Linked DNA regions of Homo sapiens: region 1 is linked to region 2. Evidence: promoter capture Hi-C in human tissues and cell types (Jung and others, 2019). All regions are on one chromosome and are shown on one strand. Each heading gives the region's core, a stretch centred on a gene start or on the middle of the fragment in contact. The rest is flanking DNA. Distances are from core to core; before and after follow the strand shown.

Evidence for each region. Contacts are between HindIII fragments. The study calls those that stand out against the background at their distance.
Region 1: a fragment that was not itself captured here is called in contact with the fragment with the promoter of GPR61 in region 2 in 15 of the 25 tissues and cell types used here (H1 embryonic stem cells, IMR-90 fibroblasts, adrenal gland and 12 more).

What each region holds. Positions count from the first base shown.
Region 1 is chr1:109,496,608-109,502,908 of GRCh38, forward strand. CYB561D1 (cytochrome b561 family member D1) reads left to right here. Exons shown (of 3, transcript NM_182580.3): 3 at 1-3,828. Among named protein-coding and RNA genes, the nearest start is that of CYB561D1, 5.7 kb to the left of the region's middle. RefSeq lists a silencer at 1,740-2,034 and an enhancer at 2,882-3,381. The HindIII fragment of the contact is 8,294 bases long and covers 606-6,301 here.
Region 2 is chr1:109,538,321-109,544,693 of GRCh38, forward strand. GPR61 (G protein-coupled receptor 61) reads left to right here and starts at 1,552. Exons shown (of 2, transcript NM_001393907.1): 1 at 1,552-1,633; 2 at 4,102-6,373. The coding sequence starts at 4,703. The coding sequence ends at 6,058. RefSeq lists enhancers at 1,065-1,566, 1,567-2,066, 5,371-5,909. The HindIII fragment of the contact is 6,013 bases long and covers 1-5,144 here.

The DNA of each region.
Region 1 (6,301 bases), core at 3,503-6,002, 39 kb before region 2:
GGGTTACTTTTAAGAAAGCAGTGTGATGTAGTGGAGAGAGCCCATGGGTCTTATTTATGGGATATGGTCCTCTTAGGCTCTGTTGTACAACCTTAGGTACATTCCATATCTTAAGACCACTGTTTCTTCATCTGTGAAATGTTTCTAAACAATCTCTAAGTCCCTTCCTTCTCTAATATACAGCGTCTGTCAGGTCGATGTCTCAGAACACTCTCCCAGCTGTGGACCACGTGGACCACTTAGCAGACTCAGGGGGTAGTTCTTTACTCTCCCTTTACTACCCTGGAGGGACAGCTCTGCCCTTGAGGCCCTTCAGAAATTTGTGCTGATTTGGTCCCTGTGCCAGGGCACAGGGGGTCAGGCACTGTGGAAAGAAGGGACTCAGGTGAGGGTCTTCTGGACTCTAAGACGGTAAAGGCACTAAAGTCACTTTAAAGCTTTTGGAGAAGCAGGAGGGCATTGGCTTAACCAAGCCGAAGGCTGCTGGCTGGGCTGCCTAGCCCAGCTAAGATCTTCCTTCAGCCCACCTCAGGATCCGGGCTTGAGGGCTGCAGGGCCTGCGTGCGCTCCCTCCCCCGAAATCACTTCTCAGGGCAAAGGAGCCCCAGGCATCTCATGCTTTGCCCTTCTTAGGGCTCAGGTTCTTGCCTTAGCACATAGCTTCTGGGAGCTTTTTTGAAGCATTTCATAAGGGCCAAGGAAGTGGGGCAGGGCTTTTCTGATCCAAAGAAAACAAAGTTTCTCTGGTTACCCCTCTTCCCTTGTTATCTAAGCTTTCCTCAGTTGTCATCTCTTCCCAGCTCTTTGGTCCAAGAGGGGGCTGAGTTTGGTGCCAGCTGGCAAATGAGGGCTGGACTCTCTTCCCTCCAGAGACCACCCCGCTCCTTGCTGCAGCTGAAAGTAGTTCCCCAGGCTGCCCTCGGTGGTGAGGACTGGATGCTAGACTGCTGAGCTGTGGTCTGGGCTCAGTTGAGAAGATAGGATCTCCCTAGATCATGGCAAGGCCTGACAACAGCTGAGCCAGGAAAGTGCTGCTGAGGCAAGTCGACATAGCTCACAGGGAACTCTGGGAAGCCTGGGATGTAGGCGCTGGAGCTCCAGTTCCCAGGAGCAGGGGCAGGTGTTCCTAGATGTTAGTGTTGTGGATGTCCTTGGTCTTCTGAAGATTCAGGTCCTCCTCTCCGGGTAGCTTAGAAGTAAGGAGGTTGGTTTGATTCAATAGTATGGGGACAGAATGGGGACAGCAAGGGCAGAAGTGTCCTCTCCACGTAACTCATTATGCCCCTCCTGGGGGAGATTGCATCTCCAGGACAAGCATCTAAAGGAGGCCCCTGCTGTGCAGAGGGGTATTGTTCCTGTCTCTTTCATTGTCCTCCCTCCTCTCAAACTCTCCAGTGTGGTGTGAACTCAGAAGAAACGGTTACTGGGGCTGCATGGAGAATTTCACCTGCGGTGATTTTGATCCAGGGACTGCATCTCCTCTTTCCTCATCACAGCCAGTGCTGAGAGGCTCCTTCTACCTGCCGCAGGGTAGGAGGGCCAGGCAAAGTTCACCAGCTTGCTCTAAGAGCAAGCAGGCAATGCCGTAAAGCCTGAGCCTGCCTGAGGTGCTGCCTCCTCCCAGGTGGTGCGGGGGCTGGTGGGCGGGCGGGCAGGCGTGCTGACAGCCGGCAGTTTGCGTGGGCTGTGCCATCTGATGTCTATTCCCAGCCCTGGGAGGAAGGGGGAGTCATTTATATTCTGCAGGAGGAAGGGGCCCCAGCTGTCGCCTTTCTGACCAGCAGGCCTGGAGGGCAGGGGCACAGAGCAGAGAGGAGGGCACTGGTGGTCTCCTGCTTAGCCTGGTCTGACTGCAGTGTAGGGAATAGGTCACCAGGAGGAGCCCTTCATCCTGGCAGGCCGGATTGTGGAGGGACTTCCCTCCCCCTCTTTTCCATTTCTCCCTCCATCACCACCTGCCCTCACATCCTGGGGCAGCAGCTGGACAGCCATTAGACCTCAGTGCCAGGGCACTCTTCCTCCAGCTGGGATCTCAGTGGCTCCCAGCTGCATGGGCTCCTGCTTGTGTGTTCCCTCCTCCGCCATCCTCTGTTCCCCGCACCTCCCTTATTCTGCTCATGTCTGGGGTATTCACTTGGCTCCTCAGCAAGGAAGCAAACGCCTTGGAGGAGAAGCACATGGTTGCCCTTTTGTCCTTGCTCCCTGGCTAGGGAAAGCTGCTAGTGGTCAGCCTGTTTTGCCTTTTTTTAAAAAAAAAAAAAAAGCCAGGGCAGGGTGCTTAGATTTTAAAAATTTGCGTGTCATTTGCACAAATTTTCATATCAAGCTAAGTCCTGATTCCAAATTTGATTATATTCCAAATTTGATTATATTCCAAATTTGATTATATTCAGATTCAACCTTGAGGACATTAGAAATATAGATGGCTTCTGTATCCAAATCTGAATGGAAATGAGATTACCCTTCTGGGTTCAGATACCCCTCCCAAGCCCCCGTCTTTTCTGTAACCACCCCTCCTCTGAGCCCCATCATGGCTGGGGTTGGTATGGAATGGGAGCAGCTCTGTATCTGGGGAAGTCCTCCAGCCTCACCTTCTTGGCTCTTAAGTGGTAGGCTGTTACCACTTGCCAGCCTGGGCCTCCTCTCTCCCCACCCTTTCACAAGGCAGGCTGCCCTTCCGCACTCACTGGCCCATCCCTTCTTTCTCATCGTCCCACCCTTCCACCCCCGTGCATGGCTGCTGTAGGTCTGGTTTTTTTGGTTTTTGTTTTTTTTAAGACGGAGTCTCACTCTGCCGCCAGGCTGGAGTGCAGTGGCAGAATCTTGGCTCACTGCAACCTCTGCCTCCCAGGTTCAAGCGATTCTCCTGCCTCAGCCTCCCGAGTAGCTGGGACTACAGGCACGTGCCACCATATCCAGCTAATTTTTGTATTTTTAGTAGAGATGGGGTTTCACCATGTTGGCCAGGATCTCTTGACCTCGTGATCTGCCCGCCTCGGCCTCCCAAAGTGCTGTGATTACAGGCGTGAGCCACCGTGCCTAGCCAGGTCTTGTTTTGAAAACCTCACTGTGGGAGATTCAGGCATCCTCCCTAAGCCAGCTGGCCGCTGTGCTAAAGCCTGTTCAGAGTTAATAATAATCATTAGCTGAATGGTGCTGGGGCCTTTCAGCTTCAGATCTCTAAGCACTTGCAGGCTGAGTCAGTCAGCCCTCACCTTCCCCCTCCTTCCTGGGCTGCAGAGTGTAACAGAATGGGAAGGCACTGTGGGAAGGAAGTCAGGAATCTTGCTGCTAGCCACGCCTTGCAGTGACTTCTCGTCTGGGAGTGGGCACTGAGTCCTCTCAGTAAACTAATAAGACTTGCACCTGACAAAGGTCAAGATATGTAGGGAACACAGTGTATGCTAGGCTGAGACCTATGGTGGTGGCAGGGGTGGCTGTTGAGCCTGAACTTCCAGTACTCCTGCCCTTCCTTCTGTTTACCTGGCTTGGCCTACAGGGGGCACCCCTGGTCTTGATGCCTCAAGCCCAGCATTTCTGGGTCCCCTCTGCAAGCTCAGAGAGCAGGGAGGCTTCTGGTAGTGCTCTTGATGCTCCTGTGTCTGGTTGGCACAAAGATCCTGTGTAACATGAAATGAAAGGTGCATCAGCTTGGGGGCTGGGAAACCTGCAGTATGGGTTTACTCCGTCCCTATCACTGGTGTGGCTGTGGGCAAACCACTTATTGCCTGACCTACCTCACAGGGATGTTGTGAGGGTTTGATGAGAGAATGAATGTTAATAGGAATTGGAAAATTCAAAGCATTAAACACATGTAAACAGGTGGTATTATTATGTTCTTGTCCTTCTCTTTCACTGAGCCAGGCTTTGGGCTTTATGCTTCTTAGGCAATAAACAGTTATGGATAATGACAGGGGATCTAAGTCTCAGAGAGTTGTTCTGGCCATCATAAGAAAACATGGACACATTTCTTCCTTCCAGATGCAAGGTCAGCTCTTACCAACTCCTGCCAGAAATGCCACCACGGCCATGACTAGTGAAGTTTGCCGTAAGTGCTGCCTACCTGGTGTTCCCAAATCACAGGGCAGACTGCAGATCTCGGAGTCAGTACAATTCCTCCCTAGGTCCAGCCTGAAGTTCCTGGAGCTGGTCTTCGTAGGGAGCTGCAGGTCACAAGTCTATCTAAATCTCTCCTAATTCTGCCCTTCTGAGGGAAAAGTGGAGCAGACAAGCTAGGAAGGGAGGAGCAACTGGAGCAAACAGCATCGCCACAGACCCTCTGTTTACCGAAGCCACAGAATGAGCAACACCTGCCTCAGGCATTGGAGATGCAGAGCAGGGACCCCTGGCTTCCCAGGGTCCACAGCCTGGTTTCCCTTTCCCCATTTCAGGCTCGTGGAATAGGATCAGTCCCCTCCTCCTCCAAGTGCTTTATTGGCATTCACATACACACACACACACACGCACACACACACACTGAAAGCAGTTCTGTTTAAGTTTTAAATTGGGGAAGAATACTTTCCATTCCATTTGTCTGAGAGCAGCAGCAGTCTGCCTGGAGTGGATGCAAAGAAGCAGGAACAGCAAAACAGCAGTGCAGAGGCTTGAATATTCGTTTTTTATCTTAATTGCTTTTTCTGTCCTGGGATCCAGGAATGAAACACTAGTCAGGCATTGTGTGCAGAGCCTCAGCAGTTCTCACCAGCACTGCACAAAGACGACAAGCTGAAAGGCAGAACTGCCCTGGAGGGTGGTTTGAAGTAGCCCGTCTCCAGCATGGCGCTGGGCTTAACCCCTTCATGTAGGCAGAAATTACCTCCAGTGAGGGGACCTTCCCCCTACCCACCCACTCAGGAGACTCAGCTAGTCACCAGATGCATCACAGAATAACAATCTCAGTTTATAATCCTGCTATTGCTAGGATTTCCCAGATGAGTTTTTAACCTCTGTTGGAAGCAGATTAAGGAACGACTTCAGGCTATTCAGTGGCATCTGAGGAGCCAACTCTGTCTCACTGAGTATACATGAGTGGCCCCCTAGCACCCCTATCTTTAAAGCAGATACCCAGTTATCTCATGGTGCTTTCTAAGGATGCTCAGTTCTGCTCAGGCCCCCCAAAAGCAAACTATGACCAAGTGAGGGAGCAGTGGGAGGTAAGGGAAATGCAGCACAAAGTACAATCCAACTCCAGTACTTGCCAACCTGTATGTGTGCGCACATGCACGCATACACCAGCCTTGGAGGCAATGACTCCTGCCTAATGTATGCCAGTGCCAAAGGGCATCCAGAAGTCCCACTGCAGGGCTCCACGTCCTGGCTCACTGCAGGTTGGTTCTCTCAGGCCATGGTTCCAACCAGGGAGAGTAAACAAGCTGACTAGATTGGAGGCGTCAGGGCAGGTCTAAGTGTCTTCACCATTTTGCATTTTCCACCTAAGAGTGTAGAAGCCTGATGAAGGGGCTTGACTGGCAGCTGCTTTAGCCTTCCTCTCTCAAGCCCCAGGAGAGGAAGCATTCAGCACAGGCTGACTGTGACTAGACCAGAAAAGCCAACCGTCCCACTGCAGGGGCCTGAGCCTTTTCTGCTATGTGGGTGGAGAAAGTGAAGCTTCCCCACTGGTTTCCTGGGAGATACAAGATAAGTGGTGCAAGAAGTGCATGCAGAAAGGGAAGGAGTTGAGAGACTGGGGGGAAGAGAGGCCAGGTTAACCAATGCACTGAACTCTTACCTATTCTCAAAGAAAACTGTCATATTAGCCTCCTCCCTCCCCGCAAGTGCTACCTAAGAGGAGCCAGGGTAAGTGCTGCAAGGCATGGCAGACAAAATTGCACATCTTGGCCAGAATCTAAGGAACTTCTTGTGGTTTGGGGGAGGTGGTGAGGATGTGGGTGGTGGGTGGGTGGGGGGTGTTGAAGAGATGCAGCCATGGACTTCCTTGGGCTTGGCACAGGCCAAAACAGAAGAGAGAACTCCAAACTCCAAGTAGTCCTCATCAGACTTGCTCTCCTTATCAGCTTCATCCTGTCAGCCAAATTGTCAGCCATAGAAAAACTGCTTTGCAGATGAAAAACTATATAAATGCAGAGTATGGGAGTGCTCTGACATCAACAGCTGTCATTTCACTGACTGCCAAGGTTGACTTGTCTGATGTGGCTGGTTGTGCAGTAGCTCCACCCCTCGTCACCTTGGTTGTTCCTCCTGAAGTGAAAAACAACTTTCCAAATAGAGGAGGGCTGCCCTTCGGTCAAGACTTTAGGTAAGTATTCAAATTCGCATTCTTTTAATTTTTTTCCTGGTATCA
Region 2 (6,373 bases), core at 302-2,801:
GGAGGAGGAAATACTTGGACTTCAAACAGATCTGGGTTCAAATATCAGCTCTTGCACTTATTAGCTGTGTGATTTGGGGAAAGTCACTTCTCCTCCAGCACCCGGTTCCTCACTTATAAAATAGGGCAAGTCATGGCTGCCTCATAGATTGGTGTGGGGATCAAAGAAACTGTATGTAAAGGGCCTGGCACTCATAACAGCTCAAAAAGTGGTGGCTGGTGACAGCGGCACTTGCTGCATCGGCTCTTGGTTTGTCAGTGGCCTCTTTGTTTTTGACCTGGGGCTTGGGGCAGCCAACTTGTCCCAGTGAGGTCCTTGGGTAACTCATTGTTCTTATGGCTCTTTGGGTTGGGTCTGGTAAACAATTCCAGAATTCCCTTTTTCCTTCTTAGAGGCAGAAGGAGTCCCTAGATAGGCAAGTCTCAGGGAAGCAGGCTCTGGAGTAGGGGATCATGCCTGAATTCCCTGTTTAGACTCATGGCTCTGCCATGTGGAGCTATGTGGCTTTGAGCAATCTCTTTATCTCTCTGGGTCTCAGAAACATGGATACCTTGGCCTGTAGGATGTCCTACAGCTTTGCAATGTTAGGATTCTATCCTTGGGTATCAGTCATGTACCCGGGTAAATGATCATTTTCTTCATAGCTAGAGGGAGGCCATGCCCCTTCATTGCGTCTCTGAAGGCCCATCATGCCACAGATGGGCGATGCTCAGTGGCTGATGCTACCTAGCTCTGTCCAGTCCCACAAATCCAGATCAGTGTGAGCATTCCTGAGTCCCTGGCCCCCACTCTGTCTCCTTCAGGAAGCAGTGTTGTGGTGGTTCCCATGGTGGCTCGGGGGGATGTTAGATCCTCCCGCCCCCTCCCTGCCAATCTCCATCAGCCCTCACAGCCCCAGTTCCAATAAACATACAATCTAAGCAAATAATAATAATGTGCTTTTGGGAGGCAAGGGCAGGGTTAAGACAAAGCCTTCAGCTGCCCTTCAAACCTGAGTGCTGCTCCTAAACCTGTCCCCCATACGCATTAGGCAGCTTCCAAAGGGGCCAAACCTTGGACCATCCCCTGGAGCCTCAGCCGCCTCCCTGGCCTAAGCCTTGGGGCCCTGGGTCTGCGCTGACCTGCCTGCATCAGCACCTTGGTTCTGATGTCACACAGAACCATGCATCTCTCCTATCTTCTCTTTGAACTGCTAAGAAATCAAGGCCAAAATGCAACTTGCCCAAGGTCACACGGCTAGTAAGTGCCATAGCCAGGCCTTAAACCTGGATTTTCTGACTCCATGTACTTTTTTTTTTACTTCATCAGGCTGGTCAAGAGGGTCTCCCCTACCTATCATTTCCTGGCCCCACGAAATTTTTGAGACGCAATCCAGCAGCCTGAGAGAAGTGAGAGGAGTTGAGCTCACTGCCAGGCACCTTGCCTGGGGCATTGGTGCCCACCTTTTTGCTCCAGAAGTGACTCTGAGGGGCTGGGTGGGAAGCAGGAGGCCATTAGGACCCAGAGGCTCTCGGAGCACTCTGCTTTGCCGGCTGCCTCTCACCGCTCACTGCAGTGCTTCAGGCTTCAGCAGCCTTGGAGAAGCATCAGCTGAGAGGAGCTATCACATGGGAGCCGGGACTGCTCAGCAAAGGTAGGAGTTGCCGACTAGGCCAGGAATGGGGGCCAGACCCAGAGCCTGGTGGTGAGTGCCAAGGTATCCCCACAGAAGGGTGGCTTTCCAAGGACCAGCCCTGCCTACATTCCGGTGAGCAGTTTGATCAGGAGATGGGCTCTCAGGTATCCCAAAGGCGGTATTGGGGTGTGGGCATCTCTGAAGCCCAGAGCTGGGGGGTTGATCATCTCCTGCCGGCAGGAGTACCCACATCCTGCAGACAAACAGCATTCTCCATCTGTCTTGCTCCATGTCATGGACATGGGTCTCCCACATTCTAGGAATGGGCCCTTCAGCATACAGGCTGATGGGCAACTGTGTCCTGGGCGTGGGCAACTCTGCTGAGGAGAGGTGTTGTAGCTCCCTGGAAATCTTCCCTAGCTTAGGAGGGGCACGCTCTTGTCTGAAGGAAGGCCAGGCTCAGGTCTTTGGGATGGAAGCTCTGGATCTGGAAAACAGGTGCATGTGAATCCCAATACCTCTGTGGCCTTGGGCTGGGCACTTATGCACATCTTGCATCCTGTAACTTGACCATGCCCCTGCTAGAGGCCCAGACCTCAGGCCCTAGTGGCAAAGCCTTCTAGGTACTGAAGGTCCTGGAGGTAAGAGGGGTGCTGTTGGAAGTAAGTAGTGGGGGAAGGAAAGCATCTGTTGGGGGAGTAGGCATAATGATATGACCTGGGAGAGGAGTGAGGCTCCCTGGGTTTCACCTATGAAACTGTTACACCACAGCCCTCCCCTCCATAACCCCAGTCCATTAGTGAGGGAGTGCCCATTAGCCAGATACACTGATCTGTCTGTTAAGAGGTAAATTGGAATCCTGGCATTTAGGAGTCACTGTGGAGACACTGGCAAGCTTGAGGGAGCTATGAAAAAGAGCAATGTCCAATGCCTTCTTGCTCAGGGCTCCATCATGGCTTCGTGGCATCCCTCCAGCTCCACGTGGAAACCAGGTCTGCTTCCCTCCGTCTGGGACTCTTGATGTCCATCCAGACATGGTGGGCCTCTCCTCCTTCAGCCACCAGGGAGGGACTCTGAACCACATCCTCTGGGCCTCACTCACAGACAGAAGGGATAGGTAAATCAGAGCATGGAGAGTAAGAAGGAAGGATGCTTCTCCTAGCATTTCTTTCAGGCATTTTTCCTGGTAGACTCTAATGAGAAGCTGATGTCTCACTTTTGTGCCCGCTCTTCAACTTCTCTGCAGACTCTAAGTCTCTGTGGGCATCTTAACTGTGAAATGAGCTTTCTGTGTCCCTAGAGAGAGGCACGTCTCTAGGCAGTTGCCCAAAGTTAGGGCTTCCTCAAGTCCAGGAACCCCGGCTACCCTTTCCACAAGAGAGTCCCTTGGCTGGCACACAGCTGGCTGACTGAGTGTTCTTGGAGTTTGTCCTAGGGGGCAGGGATTCAACTACCAATTTGAGTTTGATTCAATTCACAAAATTGTATTCAGCACCTATTGCATGCATAGCATGTTAGAAGTTGGATTGGTGTAAGGTTTATGGAAACACCAAAAACCAAAGGTGACTGTAAGGCTATAACTGTGGAGGAGAGTGGGGCCCATCTTGCCATGTGATCCTCTTTATTGCAGCCATAGAAATGATGGGTTTTTAAACTGAGCAACCTCAGTGTCTCCTCCCTACTTCTTGTTCTGTGACTGTAGTAAGTCTAGAACCAATGCGGCTCTTGGTCAGGGATCCTCCAAGGGTCAGCTCCAGAGATCAGAGATTTGGGGATCTGGGGAGCAGGAGGTTGGCAGCAGCTCCTTTCCCACAAGAGGGGCACAGTGGCCTTGAAGAGTTCATGAGTGGGTGGAGAAGGGCAGCTTGAAGCAACTTCCGGCTTTGGGAGCAGTGGAGGCTGGATGAGCTGGCCTCCCAGTTTCCTTCCAGACGGGACATTTTGTTTTCACTGCTCCTACTCAACATTCCCAAAGTGGCAGCTCTTTGTGCTGGGAGTAGTGATGTCAAAAGAGCCTAAAGCACAGCTCCCCTTTTCAGATGATAACCCTAGGGCAGCAAGAGACAGTTTTAGAGACAGCTGAAATTCAACAACTATTTACTGGATGCCTATTATAGTCCAGCCGGCACGGAGGGCACCTTCACATATGGCATGGCACAGTGGGCAAGAGTACTGGACCTGGGGCCAGACTGCCCAGGTAGGTGCCCAGCCCTTGCCGCTTACTAGCTGTGCGACCTTGGGTAAGTTACTTAACCTTTCTAGACCTCAGCTTCATCTCTTGCAAAATGGAGATAAAAATATTATCTACTTCATAGGGTTGTGTGAGGAATAAAATGAGTTAATATAGGTAGAGTGCTGAGAACAGGGTCTGGCATGTGGAAAACGCCGTATCAATGCTACTGCTTGTCATTAGTATTATTATTAACAAATCACGCAGGATCCAGAAACACAGTTGTGAAGCAAGTGTTCTTCCTTTCATTTTACAGATGGATTTATGAGGAAACTGAAATTCAGAAGATTCACAGAGTTAGTAATGCCCAGAACTGGGACTAGAAACTAAATTTTGTGCTCCTTCTACTCCCCAGCAGCTCTTGCCATTCTGAGGAGACAAGAAATCAGGAAATTTACATAAGGAACCCTAAAACTGAGGCACTATCCCAGAGATCAGCAGGACCCTGGGAAGGAGAAACAGGATTTAGAATCCCCGGCTAACAGTTCTGGAAAGGGTAGAAGGGTATGGAGAACAAGAATGGCAGAAAGGAGATGGAAAAGGAAGAGGTGAAGGCCATTCCGAAAGCGGAGTGTTGAGTGGGTCAGGCTCCTGCACCTCTCACGTCTCCTGCTTCTTAGCAGTCACCAAGGCAGACCCTGCAGCTACCTCCGGCCAGAAAGGGGATGAGCTTCTGATCCTTCAGCTGCCTGGCCTGGCGCTCTGTACGCAGACAAACCTGCCCAAGAGGCTCCAGTGGGAGGTGCCCCCTACGAAACCAGGAAGCCTGGGCCTGGGCTCGCCATCCCAGGGTCGCTGGACTAGGATGGGGGATGGGCCTGTGACAGGAGGTACCCTGGGTGCCCTCTTTCGGCCCCATGGAGTCCTCACCCATCCCCCAGTCATCAGGGAACTCTTCCACTTTGGGGAGGGTCCCTCAAACCCCAGGTCCCTCTACTGCCAGTGGGGTCCCGGAGGTGGGGCTACGGGATGTTGCTTCGGAATCTGTGGCCCTCTTCTTCATGCTCCTGCTGGACTTGACTGCTGTGGCTGGCAATGCCGCTGTGATGGCCGTGATCGCCAAGACGCCTGCCCTCCGAAAATTTGTCTTCGTCTTCCACCTCTGCCTGGTGGACCTGCTGGCTGCCCTGACCCTCATGCCCCTGGCCATGCTCTCCAGCTCTGCCCTCTTTGACCACGCCCTCTTTGGGGAGGTGGCCTGCCGCCTCTACTTGTTTCTGAGCGTGTGCTTTGTCAGCCTGGCCATCCTCTCGGTGTCAGCCATCAATGTGGAGCGCTACTATTACGTAGTCCACCCCATGCGCTACGAGGTGCGCATGACGCTGGGGCTGGTGGCCTCTGTGCTGGTGGGTGTGTGGGTGAAGGCCTTGGCCATGGCTTCTGTGCCAGTGTTGGGAAGGGTCTCCTGGGAGGAAGGAGCTCCCAGTGTCCCCCCAGGCTGTTCACTCCAGTGGAGCCACAGTGCCTACTGCCAGCTTTTTGTGGTGGTCTTTGCTGTCCTTTACTTTCTGTTGCCCCTGCTCCTCATACTTGTGGTCTACTGCAGCATGTTCCGAGTGGCCCGCGTGGCTGCCATGCAGCACGGGCCGCTGCCCACGTGGATGGAGACACCCCGGCAACGCTCCGAATCTCTCAGCAGCCGCTCCACGATGGTCACCAGCTCGGGGGCCCCCCAGACCACCCCACACCGGACGTTTGGGGGAGGGAAAGCAGCAGTGGTTCTCCTGGCTGTGGGGGGACAGTTCCTGCTCTGTTGGTTGCCCTACTTCTCTTTCCACCTCTATGTTGCCCTGAGTGCTCAGCCCATTTCAACTGGGCAGGTGGAGAGTGTGGTCACCTGGATTGGCTACTTTTGCTTCACTTCCAACCCTTTCTTCTATGGATGTCTCAACCGGCAGATCCGGGGGGAGCTCAGCAAGCAGTTTGTCTGCTTCTTCAAGCCAGCTCCAGAGGAGGAGCTGAGGCTGCCTAGCCGGGAGGGCTCCATTGAGGAGAACTTCCTGCAGTTCCTTCAGGGGACTGGCTGTCCTTCTGAGTCCTGGGTTTCCCGACCCCTACCCAGCCCCAAGCAGGAGCCACCTGCTGTTGACTTTCGAATCCCAGGCCAGATAGCTGAGGAGACCTCTGAGTTCCTGGAGCAGCAACTCACCAGCGACATCATCATGTCAGACAGCTACCTCCGTCCTGCCGCCTCACCCCGGCTGGAGTCATGATGGGCCGCTGGACACTCGGAGGGATATGGGGCTGGGGCCAGTTATGATTGCAAGGACCACCTTGTGGGATCACCTTTTCCCAGCTGGCTAGGGCTGAGGCTGGGGTCTCTGCACACAGCTTTTGCTTAGTGTTTCCTGGGTCAGGAACAGAGCCAACAGGATGAACGTGTGCAAAAGCCTTGGACTTGGCTGTGATCTTTGACTGCTAGGGGAGGGAACCTGGGTATGGTGAGACGGTGACGAGAGAAAAGGGTCACAAAGGTGAGGTGAAACCTCTCAATTGGTGAAATTTCCATGCTTCCAGAAGCAGGGAAT